Linked DNA regions of Homo sapiens: region 2 is linked to region 1. Evidence: promoter capture Hi-C in 16 types of primary human blood cells and fetal thymus (Javierre and others, 2016). All regions are on one chromosome and are shown on one strand. The core of a region is centred on a gene start or on the middle of the fragment in contact, and the rest is flanking DNA. Distances in the headings are between cores, read along the strand shown.

The links. The method cuts DNA at HindIII sites, captures the fragments that hold promoters and counts their contacts. A CHiCAGO score of 5 or more calls a contact.
Region 2: a fragment that was not itself captured here is called in contact with the fragment with the promoter of ADAM19 in region 1 in 1 of 17 cell types (neutrophils); the score reaches 6.8 in neutrophils.

Annotation. Positions count from the first base shown.
Region 1 is chr5:157,572,645-157,580,407 of GRCh38, forward strand. It overlaps ADAM19 (ADAM metallopeptidase domain 19), which reads right to left and starts at 3,131. Exons shown (of 23, transcript NM_033274.5): 1 at 2,959-3,131. The coding sequence starts at 3,052. It overlaps LOC124901121 (a long non-coding RNA gene), which reads left to right and starts at 2,335. Exons shown (of 2, transcript XR_007059018.1): 1 at 2,335-2,726; 2 at 3,636-3,966. It also overlaps the pseudogene RNU6-390P. RefSeq lists enhancers at 1,827-2,356, 2,593-2,672, 4,530-5,145, 5,146-5,762, 5,763-6,377 and a silencer at 2,843-3,282. The HindIII fragment of the contact is 8,826 bases long and covers 1-4,608 here.
Region 2 is chr5:159,182,004-159,189,766 of GRCh38, forward strand. RNF145 (ring finger protein 145) reads right to left here. Exons shown (of 11, transcript NM_001199383.2): 4 at 1-48. Among named protein-coding and RNA genes, the nearest start is that of RNF145, 24 kb to the right of the region's middle. The HindIII fragment of the contact is 3,760 bases long and covers 695-4,454 here.

The DNA of each region.
Region 1 (7,763 bases), core at 1,881-4,380:
AATATTAGAAACAATGCATTCATATATTTATCAAATATTTTCTGAGTACTTAACTATGTGCCAAGTACTATGCTATGAATAGGTGCTTAATATTCATGGAGGAACAAGACAAGCATACTGCAGGACAGGAACGGTGGCTCACAACCTGTAATCTCAGCACTTTGGAGGTCCGAGGTGGGCGGATCACCTGAAGTCAGGAGTTTGAGACTAGCCTGGCCAACAAGGTGAAACCCTGTCTCTACTAAAAATATGAAAATTAGCTGGGTGTGGTGGCGCATGCCTGTAATCCCAGCTACTCAGGAGGCTGAGGCACGAGAATCCCTTGAATCTGGGAGGCCAAGATTGCGCCAGTGCACTCCAGCCTGAGTGACAGAGCAAGACTCCATCTCAGAAATAAAAAAAAGACAAGCATCGCTCTTGCCCTGGTGGCTCTGATAAGTCTATATTATTTTAAACAAAAAGGAATTCTATAATATTTAATGGAGCATTTAATGGAATTAAATGATATCTACGATTGTAAAAAAATAGTGAAAGCAATCTAAAATCTCACCAAAAGAGGAACATAGTACATGTTAAGAAAAGGTCTCCAAAACTTGGAAATAAGGCAAGAGCAAGCAAGATGTCTTCTCAATGTTGTATCAGAGCATTGTTTAACAGACTCACCCATGGATTACTGCATTATCTAGGGGAATGTACCATTGACTTTTTATTTACCATTGATTAAAAGCTACACTCTGTGAAGTTATATAATCTATATATATCTATAGAATTCTGTCTGACAGAGATGTAAGTGATTTCAGCATAGTAAAAAGATAACCTGGCCAGGCACAATGGCTCACGCCTGTAATCCTAGCACTTTAGGAGGCCGAGGCGGGCGGATCACCTGAGGTCAGGAATTTGAGACTAGCCTGGCCAACATGGTGAAACCCCGTCTCTACTAAAAATACAAAAACTAGCCGGGTGTGGTGGCACATGCCAATAAGCCCAGCTACTCAGGAGGCTGAGGCAGGAGAATAGCTTGAACCCAGGAAGCAGAGACTGCAGTGAGCCCAGATCGTGCCACTGCATGCCAGCCTGGGCAACAGATAGAGACTCTGAAAAAAAAAAAAAGAAAGAAAAGAAGGAATGAAGGAAGGAAATTAAAAAAGAAAGATAACCAAGAATTATGGTTTGCTTCATGGGGCATCCACCATTTCTGCATCTGCCCTGGGCCACATGATTTCAACATTCTTTCTCCAATGCTTGTATCACCCCTTTCTAATGCTCCCTGAATCAGCTTTACTCTCCTGTTTGCTACCTCATTAATGAGTTGAATAAATCTTGGCCACATTTGTATGAGTCGTGTTTTTAACTTTTGAAAACTTTGTATAGAGTCATTAAAATCATGTTTTACAGAGAATTTGATGATGTGGAAAACGCTCATGGTGTGAAGTGAAAAACGCAAGACACGAAACTGTACTTATGGGTATGGTTCCAATTTTATCAATATATATCCATAGGAACACACAAAGAATGTGGAGGGGAAAAAAAACAAAATATCAACAGCAACTGTGGATTTGGGGGTTGCAGATCATTTTCTTTTACACTTTTCGTTATTTCCCAGATATTCTACAGCAAGTGTTCTCCAAGGACTCAAAACTCAGAGAAGGCGCCTGTGCTAGGAGCAGTAACTAGCTTTCCTTGTCTTTCTTCATGCTTTTCTCCTGCACTAAGCACTGACACAGGCCTGGTGCTACCCTAGAACCTCCTCTGTGCCTCAGTTTCCCCTTCGGAACAACAGCTCAAAGGGCGGTTCCTTTGAGCCCTTTGGGAGGACCGCCCGACCTCGGCCCCTGGAAGTTCCGAACTGTCGGAAGAGCTCTCAGCCTCTGGGTTTGAGGCGGCCCGGGGGTCCAGCCAGCCCACCCTCGCTCCGCCGGTGCTCGCTCTATTTGAAAACGCTGACTGTTGGTCCCCCAAGCAGCAGTCTGGAGTCAGCCCAGCCCGTCTGCAGCGGTGGAGCCAGGGCTAAGCCTTCTCCGGTCATAATGAGAGAACCCGGGCACCGCCCCCCGGGACCAAGCCTTCCGCGAAATCTGCTTATAGCCCCCGAGGGATGGAGCCGGGGAGGGGATTGGTGTCTGGGAAACTAGTCCTGAGAAACACGGACATCACCCGGCATCTTAGCTGGAAACATCGAGTCAGACCCCTTCGCTTCACAGAAGGGGAAACTGAGGACCAAAGAAGGCGGCCGTCGGGTTGGCGTGGAAAGAGAGCCCTGGTTTCCAGTGCCACCGCGGACCTCAACCCGTGGCGTGGCCTTGGGCAAGTCCTTTCCCTTTTGTGGGCCTCGGTTTCCCCATCTGTGAAATGGGTGCGTTTGACTTGGCCTTCAGTAGGGCTCCTGCCAGCTCGGGGATCCGAAGTGTGTGGCTGCAGATACCCAGCGAGCCATCCCCTAGCCAAGGCTACCACAGTCTGCCGCGGGCATTTTATGTCCTACCCCACCAGTGTGGCAGGCACCGAGCCTGGTCCCAGGAAGCCGCTCCCAGGCCACACGGGCAGGGCGCTCGGGATGCTCGGCGTTGGCGAGTGCAGCGGGCGGTAGAGAGAAAGACAGAGAGAGAGGCGGAGCGGACACGAGGGACCGTGAGAAAACGGAGGAGGATAAGCCCCGAGAACGGCGGAAAGAGAAGCCAAAAGCAGAAAAACAGAGGAAGGAGAAGGCGAGAAGGGAAGGCTAGCCAGTGAGCGGACCGGCTGTTTTCTGGCTGCGCCGGGTTTCCCCGACCTCTGCCACCTCCCAGGGCGCAGAACGTGGGAACAAAGCCCGGGCTCCCAGGCTGGGGACGGCGGGGGCGCAGGCCCCGCGGAGTTGCGGGAGGCGCAGGGGTCGCGGTCCCAGCGCTCCGGACCCGCAAGGCTACTCCCAGGTCTCCGGGCCACCCAGCCTCCATCCCCCCGCGCCTGGCCACTTACTTGTCCATCCAGGCTCCCGCGCCGCCCGCGGCCGGAGGGGCTGCAGGGCAAACGCCAGCAAGCAGAGCCGGGCGGCGCCTGCGCCCCCTGGCATGGTGGCGGCGGCCCTTAGCGCTCGGCGCTCACACGCCCTCAGCCATACCTGCCCACTGCCCGGCGGTGGAGGCGCGTCTGGAACCCCCCGGCTCGCCCCGCGCCTCCCCACCCGGCTCCCAGCCCTCTGCCGAGACGCTCCGCCTCCAGCCCCGCGGGCCTCCGCCAGGGGATGGAGGAGGGGAGGCTCCAGCCCGGAGGGGGCTGGAGGGAGGGGCCGGGGAGGAGCTGGCGAGACTCGGGGGAGCGGGGCTGGCTCAGGTGAGGGAGACCGCGGGGAAGGGAGAATCCGAGCCCCCCAGGAGGAGGGATTTGTGGTGGACGCGGCCTGTAGAGGGTCGGGGACTCGGGCTTCTAGGAGTTAAACTGGACCCCTCTCCGCACAGCGGCCCGTTTACTGTCCCGCACTGTGCCAGACGCCTTGGGTGACACTCAGAGGTGATTCACCCAGCGCCGTCCCCCGGGGGCCGCCACTCTCGGAGACAGGCTCAGAAAGAGTTAACCCAACCGCCAGGCACAAAGAACTAAGTGCTATATGGACTTCTTTTTTTTTTTTTTTTTTTTTTTTTTTTTTTTTTTTTAAGCAGGACACAAATCCAGGAGCCATTCCTTCTGCCTGGGAGGAGGGAGTGATGAAGACCAGAGGAATCCCAGAGGAGAAGCCATCTGAGATCGGGAGGAGGAGAAATGGAACATCAGGCGGAGGAAACAGCCCAGACAATCGCACTGGGACGTGAAAACCCTTGGGCTGCATGCGGGGAGAAAACCAGAATTGGGGATGGTTAGGGTTTTGGAGGGAAACACAGGGACATGTGACCAAAAATAATAATAACTACTGTTACTTATTGAGGACTTTCTATGTACTAGAATAAGAAAATCATGATAGCTAAGACTGATAAAACGCTAAGTGTCAAACGCTGTCTTCAGCACTTTACACATATTCACTTATTTAATTAATCGGAGAAAATAACTTTTATGAGCCAGGGACTCTGCATACATTATCTCTTTTCATTAGCCCAGTAATCCCATGGGGTAGGTACTAGTACTATCCCTGTTTTAGAAATGAGGAAATCAAACCTGAGAGGCTAAACCACTTGCCCAAGATTACACAGCTAATGTCAGTGCCTAGATTCAAACCCACATCCGTATAACTCCAGAGCCTGATGCAACACACCTTATTTTCCAGGTGGAGAAACTGATAATGAGAGAGAAATGACTTGCCTAAGATCCCTCAGCAAGTTTTAGCAAAGCCTCGTTGTAGAATCCCAGCCTCAAACCTCGTCCATCTGTTCCTTTTTCTGAGCCTCTTTAGTCAAACCCAGGTTGACTAGAGAAGTGCTAAGTGTTGGAGAGGGCGAGGCACTCCTGAAGATGATGGGTAGGTAGGTCTATCAAACCCTACTCATGGGCACCCATGAGGGAAATCAAATAAGTGGTTCTGGCCATTAATGTCGTTTGGGACTCCGTTAGTCTCCAGCTGCTGTAAAATTCGTATCTTTCTGTGAACCCGAAATATCTGAGATAGGTCTCAGTCAATTTAGAAGGTTAATTTTGCCAAGCTTAAGAACGTGCTCATGACACAGCCTCAGGAGGTCCCAACATGTGCCCAGGGTGGTGGGGGTGTAGCCTCCTTTTATATATTTTGGGGAGACATGAGACATCAATCAATATGTGTAGGATGTACATTGCTTCCGGTCCGGTAAGGCAAGACAACTCCAAGCTGCAGAAAGGGTGGTGCTTCCAGGTTATAAGTAGATAAGAAACAGAAGAGGTTACATTCTTTTGAGTCCTTGATCAACCTTCCACTGAATACACAATTTAGTCTAGCTCAGTGAATCTACATTTTTACATAAACAATAGGGCAGAAGAAGCAATCAGATATGCATTTGTTTCCGGTGAGCCTCAGAGGGATGGCTTTAAATTCTGTCTGTCCTTTGTCCACAAGGAATTTCCTTGTGTGAAAATTGTGAGGAAGGTATGTAGCTGTTTCTCTTTGTAGCTATCTTATTTAAGAATAGGATGGTGGCCTGGCATTGTGGCTTAGGCCTGTAATCCCAGCACTTTGGGAGGCCAAGGCGGGCAGATCACCTGAGGTCAGGAATTCGAGACCAGTCTGACCAATGTGGCGAAACCCTGTCTCTACTAAAAATACAAAAAAAATTAGCCAGGCGTGGTGGCACACCTGTAATCCCAGCTACTCAGGAGGCTGAGGCAGGAGATCGCTTAAACCTCGGAAGGGGAGGTTGCAGTGAGCCAAGATCACGCCACTGCACTCCAGCCTGGGCGACAGAGTGAGACTCTATTTCAAAAAAAAAAAAAAAAAGAAGAAAAGAATAAAATGGGGGACAGGTTTGCCTGACATTGTTCCCAGCTTGACTTTTTCCTTGGCTTAGTGATTTGGGAGTCCTAAGATTTATTTTCCTTTCACACTTCTCGCGTGCAGAATATATCCACCCCATCCCAGCAGCCCAAATGTCTTCACTCATTCCAGCATTAATTCCAAGTCTGAAGTGTCATCTAAATTTCATCTGTATTAGATATGGGTGAGACTTGAAGTTTGTTTCATCCTGAGGCAAAATTCCTCTCAGCTTCCAAATACAATGTGGTGGGAAAGGCATAGGATAGACGTGCTGATTCCAAAAGAGAGATACTGAAAAGAACAAGGTGACAGTCCCCAAAAGTGCAAAACCTAGCAAGGCAAATTCCATCAGATCTTAATGCTCTACAACAATCTTCTTTGGCTGGATATTCTGCCCTGTAGGCCCACTGGGTCAGCAGTGTCACCCCCACAGCACCAGGCAGTGGCCAGCACCATAGCTCTTTGTCACAGTCCCCCACCCCAAGGCACTGGGCAGGGGCAGCCTGGCCTGCTCAAGAGAAGGAGACTCCACCCTTTCACTCCCTGCCTCCCCAACAGCCCGCTGTGGTGGGAGTGGCAACCCTGATGATCTGTGAATCATTTTTCTTAAAGAATGAAGCGAGCTGTATTGTCCTGTCCCGTAGAACAAAATTCTAAAAGCCTTCCTTTGTTTCATCCTGTCTTTATTCCTTTTGGTCTAAATTGGCAATGTCTTTGCTGGTAAAACCCATCTCTATTTCTGACTTCTAATGAGATGGCTGACTAGCTCCATGGGTTATTGTCCAGCCACACCCTTAGTGTCCTCTCCAGAAAATCCTTTTTTATTTTTTGCAATATGAATAGGCCAATAATTTTCCAAATCTTCAAGTTCTGTTTCCTTTTTGCTTAGCAATTCCTTCCATTTATCTCCATCCACTCACATTTTACATAAGTACCGAGGAGAAGCCAGGCCTCATCTTCAACACTTTGGAAATCTCTGCAGCTAAATATTTAAGTTCATCACTTGCAATTTCTACTTTCCACAAAACACTAGAACACAATTGGTGGTGGAGAAAACACAAACTCAAAGTGCTTTTTCCTCTTCTCTCACTCAACACAACAACAATCAACAGAGAAGACTTCTGTGATCAAAGATGTGGGGGCTTTCCCCACACACCAAGCAGCAGTGAATTTAGACACTATAGATAGCATCAGATCCCACAGGTTGAGGTCTCAGTTTCCAAGACTGGGCCCCCTTCAGACACCAGACGTGTGTTCTTCCAGAACTTCTGACCAACTGGCTTCCAGTTGGGGTTCCCAGGACACCTCTTTGGGTTCAATTAGTTTACCAGAGCAGCTCACAGAACTCGGAGAAGCACTTGTTAACATGAACCCAGCAAGGCCTGTGTCTTCAGATTCTTCTTGACCTCTCTGTGCAACATTCCTTCCTCAACAGTATGTGGCAGCTTGCTTCAGCACTACGTCTATTAAATTGGAAAGATACAGAGATTACCCTGGCTCCTGTGCAAGGATGACATGAAAATTCATGATGCATTCTATACTTTAAAAGTAAAAAATAAAGAGTATAGGCCAGGATCATCTCTGCAATGAGGGTCTATGACTCACAATTAGATTATAGTCCTGCTGTAGGCAGGTGAAAGAAGGGCAGAAGAAGGTCAGATTCTGTTTCCTGACACCTGTTTCTGAGGCCTAAAGTGCCCCAACATCATAACAAAAGACTATAACAAGGGCTATGGGAGATATGAGCCAGGAACCGTGGATTAAAACCAATATACATATGTATCATAATATCACAGCAATTCAGCTGAACCCTTTGCCACGTTGTAAGTAGTATTGGGGTTCAGAAACCAATATCCCAAGATATGGCACTTTGACACATTAAACTAAAGAAGTCTTAAGGTCTCTTTGACCTTCCCCCACACTCTCCTGTCTCTCAATCCTTTGTCTCTCCCAAAGCACAGCATGAAGTTGTTCTCTGAAGTTCCCTTATGTGCCTAAAGTCTGGACCTGCCAAAGAAGACAACAGTCTCGGGTGCCTTCCCTGTGTTTTCATTAACTGCATTCATATCGCAGGAAGACTGAAGTCTGTCAATACACCTGAACAGACTTTTGTCACAAACCATTGTCAGGTCTGTGGGCCAAAAGACTCTGTCCTAGGCCATTGTATGTTCTTCAAGCCCACTGAATTCCCCTAAAAATCAAGTACTATCCCCCAAAAATCATCCGCACTCCCCTATCTCCCTTTCCCCTAAGAAGTAGGGTATATAAACGTCCATACCCCAATGGGATATTGGACAATCACTCTGTGATTCTCTCCCATGCATGCTAATAAATTTGTATGCATTGTCTCCAG
Region 2 (7,763 bases), core at 1,325-3,824, 1.6 Mb after region 1:
TACATTGGTCCCTCATAGGCAAACTCCAGTTCACTCCGAACATAGTCCCTAAATAAGAAAATTGATTAGAATGTATATATTAGATACATTCCTAGCGGAATCACAATATGCTTATAAAAGCATATTATGTTAATGATACCCCTTTCCATATCTAAGGAAAAATTTAGATATGAAGAATTATATATAAATGGCCTTCATCTCTGTTTTCTGTGCACTAGAAACAGACACAACTTATTGAAATGGAATTTTACCATACAGAGAAAGCTGCCAAAGCTCCACATTATGAAATTTTCTTTCTTTTCATGGCCTTATTAAATATTTTATGCCCAGTAAAAACCCAATTGAGAGCTGATCTCTCTCAACTCTACTACACTAACCAATCACATCTAGTGATATTACACTAAACATCTCTTTTGGCTATCTTCCACCACCATCACCCCACCCTCATCTTATTTCCCTCAAAGTTTTGGCCCCGATTATATTTTATTAGTCCCAAGTAGAACCACAAACTAGTTAGAAAACTGGGGGATAGGAGTACAACCCTTAAAAATTATCATTTTCAACTCTATATGAAATCTAAGATAATTATAATATTTAAGTAGGCTACATATTTACTTTGAAGCAAATTTTACATCAAACAAAATATTCCTTTTAAAATTTAACTCATTTAACGTGTGACTACTGAGAAATAGTAAGCTTTAAGTAATAACCAGAGCCTTTACACACTCAGAAAACAGGCAGGAAGCACAACCAGGGAGAATTTAGTTTATTATCAGTAAGTTACATGGGAGTACTGGAAGACAGTTTGTCTAAAGTATTTTTGGCATCAAAGAAGGGAAGTTTGTGTAAAAAAATTCTTCCCTTTTTTTCAACTTTTAATGCTTTATTCATTGTATTTAAAAGAGAACATTTCAAGTATTTCCAAACAAACTCATATGGCTGTATTTACTTTTTCCATGAAATGACTTCCCATTAGGCAATCAAGTGGAATTCCTTTAGCACTGCATAGCCAAACAAGGAAAGACCCTCACACAATCAGCCGGAAGGGTATTTGCAAAAAAGAATCAAAACTTAAAACTAAAAATTGTTAAAAGAATTAAAACAGTTTCTGAGATTATAAAAATGCATGACTAAGTTATATGGGTGATCTAGCAATTCTCCTTTATCACTCTTAGATGATGGTTTCTAACACATAATGTATTAATTGTCTCTTTCTACTGAAAGAGGAAGCCAAATTCTCAGGAAGAATTATTGTAATGCAGTGGTTGTCAACCAAGGGGCAATTTTGCTCCTGAGGGGATATTCTACAACCTCTGGAAACATTTTTGGTTGTCACAATTGGGGAGAGGTATTACTAGCACCTAGTGTGTAAAGGCCAAAGATGCTGCTAAATATTCGTCAATGCAAAGGCTAGCCCCTAGAACAAAAAATCATCCAGTCCAAAATGTCAACTGTGCAATATTGAGTAACCCTGTTTTCATGTAGAAAGACACAAATGCAAATAACACATAAATATCTGATTACTATAGGTAACCATCAATGGAATTATATAGTTAGAAAACTAAAAAATTAAAAGAATTATGAAATTAGAACAAAATGCATATATAAATAGTATTAATACAAAGTATTTTAAAATGCTATTTGAAAAATAAATTTATACCTAAAAGAGATACAACTCTGAGTGTCAGTACTATCCAGACCTTTAAAGCCCAATAATTTCTTTTTGGTCATAGCATATCTCTCTCCAATGGATACAGTTTAAACAGGGGCCAGGAAAAATCCATACAGACAAAACACAGATTGGTGGTTGCCAGGGGCTGGGGAGAAGGGGAGATGAGAGTAACGGCTTAATGAGTACTGAGTTTTGTTTTGGGTGACAAAAATGTTTTAGAATTAGATAAAGGTGACAGCTGCACAACATTATGAATGTACTATATGCCACTGAACTGCTCACTTTAAAATGATTAATTTTATGTTATACGAATTTTACATTAGAAAAGGGAGAGAGGTCAGCTCCAAGAGCACTATCCCCAAGGAGAAAGCCACAAAGTGCCCCAGAAGGGCCTCAGTCCCAAGTGTCTCTTTGTGAGGGACAAGAAAAGACAGAAGAATTGAGGTCCCTACCATGTTTTCTTTCCACTGTTTGGTTTTGTCACATATTATTGATATTTTATAATAAAGCTCAGCAAACTAAACATTATGCTAGAATTTGATTGCTGAGACATTTGTTAATTGTTCTGCATTTTTTCATAGCCTACGTTAGTTTATCCTCTTTTTAAAAACTTTGTCTTTCTTTAGAGTTTCTTACCTTAAATTCTAATTTCACACAACAAAATTTCTAGGGATAACTAACATTCTCTGTTGCTTTTTAACTCAAAAAGAAATTACTGAATACATAAGTGCTGGCACTCTGCTAGACTCTGCTAATACTGCACATTCCATACTAGCACGCAACTTATAAACAGGGAGGGGAGATAAATACTTAGTCCTATAATTATTTAATTATGATGATGATCAGTGCTGTAAGAAAAAATACAGAATGCTGTGAGGATTTTAACGTCTTTTTTATTGATACATAAAAAGATTTTAAATTCACAGCATATTTAAAAACTACATCTTTTATTCTCTATTTCTAGGTTCTAACTTTTTCATTTAACTAATAATATTTCTATCTGCCTTTTACTTTTTTATCTTAAATACTACTTATTTTACTTCTCCTATTTCATATGGTTATTATAAAAGGTTTTAACTATTTCCTTTTCTTTTATCCAACCCTATATTTCATTCCTTTTTTAAGCCTTCTCTTAACTTTGTAATCCTTTCCATTATTTTCTTTTTAATTATTTTTGCTTTCTCTATACTCATTACTTTGCGATTTGCTGTGATTATAGGACCCTAAGGGAGGTCTGCATTCCAGAAGAATAAATGATCAACCTTTAGGCCACAATGACAGCCCTGATGTTAAGTGGTTTCCTCCCACTCGCTCTCCTTACTTTGTCCTCCTCTAGGATCCCAGGATTAGCTCTCCAATACTGTACTGCCCCCCACATTCCTGTTCAATTTAAGTCTGTATCATTCATCATAGCCTCAAAATTAGTATCATCCCTAGGCCCCTTAGAACGTTTCCCCTTTGCTCGATTCCTCTCTTTCAATACAGTCCTCCAAAATCCTCCATTTGGCTGACTCACCAAAAAGCCCCACCTCAGTAAAAACAGCCAGGCCTAGAAAGCCTGCAGACTCTCTCTTTAGGCCAGCTCAGCTTAGCATGCCAGAGTCAAGGCAGTAGTTTTGGTGACAGCTAAACTACCTAGTATGCCACACAACCACTATGGAGCTGTCACTTCTAAAAGGAGGATCTGGGCATCCCATCCCAAACTGTAGAGAATAACTGAAATAAGAATCAGGGTTAACAAAAATCTCTATATCTTACTTATGCACAAATTCCAGGTATCTCATGCTGGCATTGAGAATTCTTGGTAAATCAGTCCTAACAGGGATGGTCATTCACAACATAAGAAAAACAAGACAGTAAGCCTAAATAAGAAGGATCCAAAGTGGGAATTATCCAAAATTCCATGAGTCATTTTAGGTGAAAAATTAGTTCAAGGCAAGAGTCATAAAATTCTAACTTTTAACAACAACATATGATTCTCTTAAGACTCAGGTGAGCTATTCAAGAGAAGCATTACAATTTTTCATTTCAGAAGACTTAAAAGGTAGAATGTTTTAATATCTTCAGAAACAAGAATTCCTGCCAATCTACTTATAACTGAATAAAATATTTTCCTTCTTAAATGTTTTTTCACTTGTGGAAGGCTGATAATCACCCCAAGGCACTAATAAACTGAAAAATCTACGTCCCTAGTCCTGTATAACAGCCTCCCCTCTTTTAACTCAAACTGGGGCCACAAGGAATGTACAAGATCTATGAAAAGGGCCTCCGGCCATGGTAGCTCAAGCCTGTAATCCCAGCACTTTGGGAGGCCGAGGCAGACGGCTCACTTGAGCCCAGGAGTTCGAGAGCAGCCTGGACAACACGGTGAAACTCCGACTCTACAAAACAAAAAATACAACAATTAGCCAGGCGTGGTAATGCCTATAGTCCCGGCTACTTGGGAGGCTGAGGCGGGAGAATTGTGTGGACCTGGTAGGGGCAGGGGTTGCAGTGAGCCAAGATTGCACCACTGCACTCCAGCCTGGGTCAGAGTGAGACCCTGTCTCAAAAAAGAAAGAAAGAAAGAAAAAGAAAAGGGCCTCAGAGCTTGCAATTAGAAAAATTCTTGCTTATAAAGAGAAGTATACATGTTACAAAAAATAAATGGGTACCAAGAACAAAACCTAGTAGCTTACCACTTCAGCTAATTAAAGACCTTTATTATAACAGTCTCTTCAGCGACCTGACTCAGACACTGGACAACCTAGGAACAACTTGTACATTCTGGCTATTTACTTAAAGCTTTCAAACAACGTTAATTCCAAAGAAACCTAACCTGTTTTCACACAAAAGAGGTGTGCCAAGTTATCTTTTGCAATATGGGCAACAAGAAGCACCACTTGGTACAAGAAATCTCAGATGTTCAAATACCTGTATTTCCTTATATGCCTACTAAACACACATATACGCACACAAACATACCTACCATACCGTCAGCACTGAGCTAGCAGTTGAATAATTCATTTACCCAGAGTTTATTTAAACTGTTGACACCCTTTCTTTAGTTTCTTTCTGGCCTCCTAGATATTGAGTGCCTGTATTTGATAATGTTCAAAAGCAGAACACATGTCAAACAGTGAAACTGGTCAATTTTATTCCTGTCAAAATTAAGTTTAGAATATAAATGGTAATACTCATTTTAACAATCCAAGCTACTTGGGAGGCTGAGGCAGGAGAATCACTTGAGCCCTGGAGGCGGAGGTTGCAGTGAGCCAAGATTGCACCATTGCACTCCAGCCTGGGCAACAGAGCAAGACTCCGTCTCAAAACAAAAACAAAACAGTTGGGCGTGGTAGCTCATGCCTGTAATCCCAGCACTTTGGGAGGCCAAGGTGGGCGGATCACCTGAGGTCAGGAGTTCAAGAACAGCCTGGCCAACATGGTGAAAGCCTGTCTATACTAAAAATACAAAAAATTAGCCAGGCGTGGTGGTGGGCACCTGTAATCCCAGCTATTTGGGAGGCTGAGGCAGGAGAATCACTTGAACCCAGGAGGTGGAGGTTGCAGTGAGCCAAGATCACGCCATTGCACTCCAGCCTGGGCAACAAGAGCAAAACTCCATCTCAAAAAACAAACAAACAAAAAACAATTTATCTAGTTTTTTTTTTTAAAGAAAAAAAATTTTTTTTTGAGATAGTCTCACACTGTTGCCTGGGCTGGAGTGGAATGGCACGATCTCAGCTCACTGCAACCTCTGCCTTCCAGGTTCAAGCGATTCTCCTGCCTCAGTATCCTGAGTAGCTTAGATTATAGGTGCCTGCCACCATGCCCGGCTAATTTTTTGTATTTTTAGTAGATACGGGGTTTCACTATGTTGGCCAGGCTGGTCTCGAATGCCTGACCTTGTGATTCACCCGCCTCAGCCTCCCAAAGTGCTGGGACTACAGGCGTGTGCCACCACTCCCGGCCTATCTATAGTAGTTCTTAACTGAGGACAGTTTTGTTCCTCAGAGACAGCATGTGACAATGTCTAGGGACACTTTTTGGTTGTCATATTTGCTGGGAAGAGGGTATCACTGGGGTCTAGTGGGTAGACAGAGTGTTGTCAACATCCTATAATGCACAGGACAGCTTCCGTAGCAATGCATACCCTGCCCAAAATACTAGTATCCCTGAGAAAGAGCAGCCCCAATCTACAACTTTGAATTATGCAAGTCATCATAAAATGGAGAGCTGATTATCCATAGTTTACACATAAGTCACTCTTGGGGAAGTTTTTACATTTGAAACCGTACTTACACACCGAAGAGCCAGAATGAAAACAGTATTACTTCCTTCTTTTGAAAGCCAGTTCTACTGGGCTCTTAATTCAAGTCACAGACACACAAATCCAATATGTTGGTTCATAAATCTAACAATAAAACAAGGAATTTAAGAACACTGGGCCAGGCACAGTGGCTCATGCCTGTTATCCCAGCACTTTGGAAGGCCAAGGCGGGCGGATCACAAGGTCAGGAGACTGAGACCATCCTGGCTAACATGGTGAAACCCCATCTCTACTAAAAAAAAAATACAAAAAATTAGCTGGGCATGGTGGCAGGCGCCTGTAGTCCCAGCTACTCGGGAGGCTGAGGCAGGAGAATGGCGTGAACCCAGGAGGCGGAGCTTGCAGTGAGCCATGAGCCGAAATCGTGCCACTGCACTCCAGCCTGGGCAACAGAGCAAGACTCTGTCTCAAAAAAAAAAAAAAGAAATACTGGAGTTTAGAAATTTTAGAAAAAACATCCATCTGTGGATGTGACCACACCCTCACAGGAATGACCACCACACTCTCACAGGAATAGTAGTATCAGTGTATGGTTTTTCTTTTTTCCCCCTTAGTTTTGGATAGTCTCAATTTTCTATACGGATTAGCACTAGAAAAATACATTCCCTACATCCCTCAAAACGCCAAGGAAGAGTTTAGTAATTTTAAAAATTTTAAACTGACATTTACCAAATTCTGTTAAGTTCAATTAGAATATCAATATTAAATATTTATATGACATTGACTGAACCCATGAATCTCTGACATTTAATTCTTCCAAACTGCAAGCTATATCCATTCTATAGACATATTCTAAACAAGTTTTTAGTCATTTCAGGATAATAAGTTTCATTATGTAAATACACATAAAGGAAAACAGAAACCCAACTTTTCAAAAGTTCATGAAATTTTCAACTTAGAAAATTAATATTTGCAAATGTCTTTTTCTATAAGCTAGTTTTTAATTTTTTTTTTCTTGTTTCCAATAAGGCTGGATATAGCCAGTTTTTTAAGTACGAAATTAATTGTTAAAATTATTATAAGTGCTGATTCTCCTTCTCAGGAGCATAATAAACTATGCCTTGATATAACTAGATTGCAGTGAATGGAAGAATATATTTGTAAATTATAGATCTGATAAGGGACTTGTATATATTTGCAAATCATAGATCTGATAAGGGACTTGTATATATTTGCAAATCATAGATCTGATAAGGGACTTGTATATATTTGCAAATCATAGATCTGATAAGGGACTTGTATCTAGAATATATAAAGAACTCCTACAACTTAGCAAGAAAAAGACAAATAACCCAATTAAATACTGAGCAAAGGATGTGAATAAACATTTTTCCAATATTTACACACGGTCAATGAACACATGTAAAGATGTTTAACTTCATTAGCCATCAGGGAAATGCAAATCTAAAGCACAATGAAATACCTCTTCACACTCACTGTAATGGCTCCACTAAAAAGGACAACAATGGATGCTGGCAAGAATGTAGACAAATTGGAAGCCTCATACACCGCTGGTAGAAATATGAAACACTGCAGCCATTTTAACAGTCTGGCAGTTTCTCAAAAGGTTAAATATAGGCACCACATGATTCAGCAATTCCACTCCGAGGTATTTGTCCAAGGAAAATAAAACATTTGTCTACACAAAACCTGTACATGAATTGTCATAACATTATTCATAATAGCTAAAACATAGAAACAATCCAAGCGTCCATCAAAAGATAATTGGATGTATAAACAAAATGTGACATACATCCATACAATGGAATATGGACAGAAAAA